2 separate regions of the Homo sapiens genome follow, and region 2 is linked to region 1. The links are contacts of gene promoters, found by promoter capture Hi-C in human tissues and cell types (Jung and others, 2019). All regions are on one chromosome and are shown on one strand. Each heading gives the region's core, a stretch centred on a gene start or on the middle of the fragment in contact. The rest is flanking DNA. Distances are from core to core; before and after follow the strand shown.

What was found. Contacts are between HindIII fragments. The study calls those that stand out against the background at their distance.
Region 2: a contact is called between a fragment that was not itself captured here and the fragment with the promoter of CA7 in region 1, in 2 of the 25 tissues and cell types used here (bladder and thymus).

Annotation. Positions count from the first base shown.
Region 1 is chr16:66,842,960-66,845,814 of GRCh38, reverse strand. It overlaps CA7 (carbonic anhydrase 7), which reads right to left and starts at 1,401. Exons shown (of 7, transcript NM_005182.3): 1 at 1,288-1,401. The coding sequence starts at 1,327. The region is part of intron 3 of LOC124903699 (a long non-coding RNA gene); the gene reads left to right. RefSeq lists an enhancer at 972-1,473. The HindIII fragment of the contact is 13,624 bases long and covers 1-2,855 here.
Region 2 is chr16:66,741,012-66,743,866 of GRCh38, reverse strand. DYNC1LI2 (dynein cytoplasmic 1 light intermediate chain 2) reads left to right here. Exons shown (of 13, transcript NM_006141.3): 4 at 1,199-1,429. Among named protein-coding and RNA genes, the nearest start is that of DYNC1LI2, 9.2 kb to the left of the region's middle. The HindIII fragment of the contact is 5,830 bases long and covers 1-2,855 here.

The sequences.
Region 1 (2,855 bases), core at 152-2,651:
TGGAGCAGGCTACACAGGACACTGGGTGCTCAGAGCTGGTGGGCATGACTAGCAAGAAGAGCTGGAGGCAGGGGACTCTGGCTCTGGGGGAAGCACCCAAAAGGTGGCTCAGAGCAGGTGCTGGGAGAAGATGATCCCTATGGGTCCTGTCCATCTGCCCCATGTCTGCCTGTCTCTCCCTCTCTGCTTGTCTATATCATCTTTTTCTGAATGTCTCTTTCCAGCTCTTGCATACCCAGATCTGGGGGTTCTCTTCCAAAATATGCTCCTTTGTTCTTGGGGCCCCAGAGGGAGCCAAAGACTCCACAGCACCCTCCCTCTGGTCTACTGCAACTTTCTGGCTTCCCAGACTGTGGTCCCCCACCCAACCTCACAAAGTGACTGCCTCTCCGCAGAGGAGTGGGGCTGGGGGATGTTCCTCCCATCATTACTTTTTCTTCTCCGCACCCCACCTGTCTTGCACTGGCTCCCCAGGGAAATAGGGAACCCCTTACCCCACACCCCCACCCCTGCTTGGTAAGAAATGGCCCCAAAGGGAATTGACTGCCCCAGACCCACACTCCAGCCGTCTGGCTCTCACCTTCTGCCTCTTCTCCCTTTCTCTGAGTCCTAAGGAAACTGAGGCAGGATGAAGGAGCTCTCTTCCGCGTCAGCCCAGGAGGCTGGTGTGGGCCACGGGCTCCCACGACTCACACCCGGACGTGCGCAAACACCCTGCTCGGTGTAGACACCCAGACACATGCTTGCGCCCCCAAGTGCCCCCTTCCCTCACGTACCGGCCGAGAAGGCAGCTCGGCCACTTCTGCGGGGAAATTCTCTCCGGGGGACACTGCGCCCTTGCCACGCGGAGCCCCGCTCCCCCGAGGTCCCCGCTCACTTGCCGTGCGCGCTCCCCGCAGACACCCGCGCACAGCGCTCCGCGGCGCCCGCCCCCCGCTGCCCTGGGCCACCCCCACGCGCTGCGCACGCCCGGGGCGAGTGAGTGAGAGTCTGGGCCTGGGTCTGAGCGGGCTGGGCAATCAGGGGCTTCGCGGAGGAGGCGGCAGGACACAGCCGCCAGGTCGCTTGCTGGCGGCGGGGCCACCCGGGGCGCAGCGCGGACTTTGCGTCTGGCGCGGGGGACCAAGGCTTGGGCCAAGTTCGGGGGCCGGGATGGGAAGAGGGGTCCCGCCCAGCCTGGAGTGTGGGAGCTTTCCGGTCTGGGAAACCAGCTGGGCAAGAGGGTTGGGGCGAGTGCAGTTGGGTCGGGGGTCCGAGCCAGAGGCGGTGGGGGAGGTCTGTGCCTACCGTCGTCCTGGCCGTAGCCCCAGCCGTGGTGGCCGGTCATGCCGCTGCCGTCCCCGCAGCCGTGCACCTGCCCGGTCGGCTCGGTCCGCTCGTTCGGGCTGCGGCTCCGGCCCCGCTCGCTACCGCGGAGCAGCCTCTTAAAGCAGCGGCTGGCGGGAGGAGCAGTTCCCGGGGGACCCGCCCCCCACCCCCCAGCAGGGCCAGAGAGGCCGGCCTGCCCCGCCCTCGCCCGCCGGCGAGCCAGTTGAACCCCGAGCGGAGATTCAGGGCAGGAGGAAGTAACCCTCTCCCCCCAACTCCCACCCCTGCCCTGGCTGGGCGACTATCCCTCTTTTTCCCCCAGCAACCCGTGCGGACTCTGGGACACTAGATGCCCGTGCCGCACATGGCGTCCCTTCCCTAGGCTTGCCCCAGACCTGCAAATGCCACCACCAGAGACCTGAGCTCTGGGTCCTGAATCTTTTGGGGTTGGAAAGTCCCCTTTAAACTGCAAACTACACTGACCATCAAGTGTCCAAAACTGGAGCTTCCACTGTTTGCCAGAGGCTGTTGCAGGCGCTGGACCAAGCTTTGGGTCCTTCCTATGGTATAACCCTCTCTGTTACCCTACAAGGTTGGGTGCTTCCATCAGCCCTATCTGACAGAGGAGGGGAGTGAGGCCCAGAGAAGTGAAGTGACTTGCCCAAGGTCATCTAGCCAGGGGGTAAAGGGTTCATTAGCTGGGGTTCTTACTCCAGACACTGGGGGTTTTGTGGGATTTGTTTGTTTGTTTGTTTGTTTGCTTGTTTGTTTTTAGACAGAGTCTTGCTCTGTCACCCAGGCTGGTGCTATATCAGCTCACTGCAACCTCCACCTCCTTGATTCAAGTGATTCTTCTGCTTCAGCCTTCCAAGTAGCTGGGATTACAGGTGTGTGCCACCACATCCAGCTAATTTTTGTGTTTTTTGTAGAGATGGGGGTTTCACCATGTTGCCTGGGCTGGTCTTGAACTTCTGGCCTCAAGTAATCCACCCGCCTTGGCCTCCCAAAGTGTTGGGATTAGAGGAGTGAGCCACCACTCCTGGCCTGACACTGGGGTCTTTACCATTTCTCCTTGGTGCTGGGTACAAGGGTGTGCTGTGAGTGTGGGGGTCCGGGAACCCTGGGGTAGATGCAGGGACAGGAATGGCAATGTGAACCCTTGGCCCAGGTGGAACCAGATCCCCCAAGGGGGAGTGAGAAGGAGTGGCATCAACCAATGGGCCTGAAGACAGGCAGACACCAGGTGGCTTCCCCATGGAGCTAAGTCTGAGGCTCTGACTTCCACCCTCCCTGTTATTTTGTCTACTGCTTCCTCCTTTCTTCAGGGACTCTGCTTTGTCCCTCCATAGCCTGCTGTTTGTCCCTCCTCTCCTGACCTCCCCATAACCTTCAGTACACCCCCTGGGAGCTCAGACCCTCCACCCTGCACTCAACCCCAGTGCCTGCCTTGGCCCAGTATTTTCCCACCCACGAGCCCTGGTCGTTGTTGTGCCCTCCACCTGGTGCGTCCTCTGTCTTCCACCCACTGGCTCCAGCCGGCCCAATCT
Region 2 (2,855 bases), core at 91-2,590, 100 kb after region 1:
ATTAGGCGTCTGGTAATTCATATCTCAGTTTATGTAAGTGATGATTTTATCTTCACATTTAAATACAAAGGTTCTGTCTCTTTGGCATCCTTTATAGTATGTGAATGCATTGTTTAGTGTGACCAACACAAGAAGGGCTTGTTTAAACATAGGCTCTTCAGCACAGCTCACTGCTTCACTGATTGCTGTTACCTTAGGATGATGGATTATTTAGGTTGTGGCACAGTTGACCAGTGAACATTAGTATCTTTTGGTTTTTATTGAAAGCTAAGAGACTCTCACCCTTTTTTTTTTTTTTTTTTTTTTGAGATGGAGTCTCACTCTGTCATCCAGGCTGGAGTGCAGTGGCACGATCTCGACTCACTGCAACATCTGCCTCCCGGGTTCAAGTGATTCTCCTACCTCAGCCTCCCAAGTAGCTGGGATTACAGGCGCCTGCCACCATGCCCAGCTAAATTTTGTATTTTTAATAGAGACAGGTTTTACCATGCTGGCCAGGCCGGTCTTGAACTCCCGACCTCGTGATCAGTTCGCCTCAGCCTCCCAAAGTGCAGGGATTATAGGTGTGAGCCACCGCACTGGGTCCGATACCCTCAATCTTTACTTCATAGACATTTTGGAAACCTTTTTAGGTGTGAACACCTCCTATATTACTGTAGTTTTTTTTGTTTGTTTTGTTTTTGTTTTTGTTTTTGTTTTTGTTTTGAGATGGACTCTCATTCTGTTGCCCAGGCTGGAGTGCATTGGCACAATCTCAGCTCATCGCAACCTCTACTTCCTGGGTTCAAGCAATTCTCCTGCCTCAGCCTCCTAAGTAGCCGGGATTACAGGCGAGTGTCACGATGCCCGGCTAATTTGTTTTGTACTTTTAGTAGAGATGGGGTTTTGCCATGTTGGCCAGGCTGGTCTTGAACCCCTGACCTCAAGTGATCCACCTGCCTCAGCCTCTCAAAGTGTTGAGATTACAGGTGTGAGCCACCATGCCTGGACCCTATATTACTGTAGTTTTAAAGGCACCAGGACCAAGGATTGCTGTCTCCTGAGCACTTGGGCACTTTTTGGTTTGGATTTCCAAATTTTGCATTCTATTTAGAATTCATAGCTGTCACCTTCAAGATCTTCCTGATGTGTCTGTTTCTGCAGCTATGCTGATGGTCACTGTCAGGTGGTAACTAGCTTCATTCACTTGTTTTCTCAGATCACACGCGCTGCAACGTGTGGATTCTGGATGGAGACTTGTACCACAAAGGCCTGCTGAAATTTGCAGTTTCTGCTGAATCCTTGCCAGAGACCCTCGTCATTTTTGTTGCAGACATGTCTAGACCTTGGACTGTGATGGAATCTCTGCAGAAATGGGCTAGTGTTTTACGTGAGCACATTGATAAAATGAAAATTCCACCAGAAAAAATGAGGGAGCTGGAACGGAAGTGTGAGTAAAATATAATTTTCTTAATTGGGAAGTTCACGAGTCTCTTTAGATGGTTTGAATCACTTTCCTTTTCCCAATCCTAGAGGCTTCCCTTGCTTCGTGGTTTTGTTTTGTTTGCACCATTTATTTCAGAGTTCCTCTTGTAAACTCAGTAGTCAAAAGTATTCAAAGCAGTCTTTAACTCAAGTGTCACAAGTTGAAGAAAACAAATCAATATTTATTATCTTCATTGGTTTCCGTTTCAAATAAGAGTTCTTCCCTCACTCCCTAAAATGTGTTAAGTTCTGTGGATCTCTGTGCTTTTCTGTTACTCTCTGTCTGCTGAGTTAACATCAGAGGATGTGAGGGTTTGCTGTGGTCTCTGCAGCTTGAGTTTACTGCCCTGGAATTCCATTAAGGCCCTATGGACCCTCGTGTTGGCAGGCTTAGAGGAAGTCCTAAGAAAGACAAAGCTTTCAGCTCCTTAGTTCATTTTGGAATCCAGCAAAATACGATTTTAGTTAGAAATAGGAGGGTCTTTTTTTTTTTTTTTTTTTTTTTGTAATTAACATGAAAGGTTATTTTAAGACTAAGGACATCCAAGCCCTTTTGACAACAAAGAACTTTCAAATTAAAGGAAGTTTGTTTGGGTTTTTTTTTCCTTAATGTGGTTCAGAAGCTTGTTTTTCCTTTCCCTTGCTTCTGTGCAGTTACATCATCTTCTGTCCACTTGCCAGGGAAATGGGAGGGGCAGGGGCTGGAGCCATGGCAGCAGCAGCAGCCGTCCTGGCCGGGGCAAGCTTGACCCAGCCTGGCGTATTTTCACAGGATGACATCACCCCCTCTGGTGAATTAATGAGGGCTTCTCGGGCATGGCACACGGGATCTTCACACTTACTGGCAGAATGGTTCAGAAATTTTGATGCGCTTTTTAAATCAAGTTTCTCGCAGTGTGTTTTCTGTCCAGTACTTCATCTTGCTTCTGTCCCACGTTGTCTAAAACAATGAGTTTAACATTGTATTCTTCGGTTTGTTGTGCATGTGTATATTTCCCTGGTCACCCGCATGTGTGCTACTGTGATTGTTATGCAGCTCAGCTCATGTGTCTTCAACCACTGACCTTTCTAGATAATGCCTCTTTTTTCCTGAAATAGAGCCCTTAAGGACAACTTCTCTGAATAGTTCTGAGTCTGAAGACCTGCTTTCATCCACTGCACAGACAGCTTTGTACCCAGATGAGTGGGCTAATGTACTGGTGACTTCAGTTCTCTGAAGCTGTTTTCTTAGAGTGATAACCTTGTAGAGATCTGTTAAGACAGAAAAGAGAGAGATTGAGCCAATATTGTTTTTTCCCAGATAGGGAAAGTGTCTGCCCTATACTGTACCAGGTACCAGGTTCTAGGTGCTGGAGACACAGTAAATAAAAGGCCTGCTTCTGGGGGGCTTA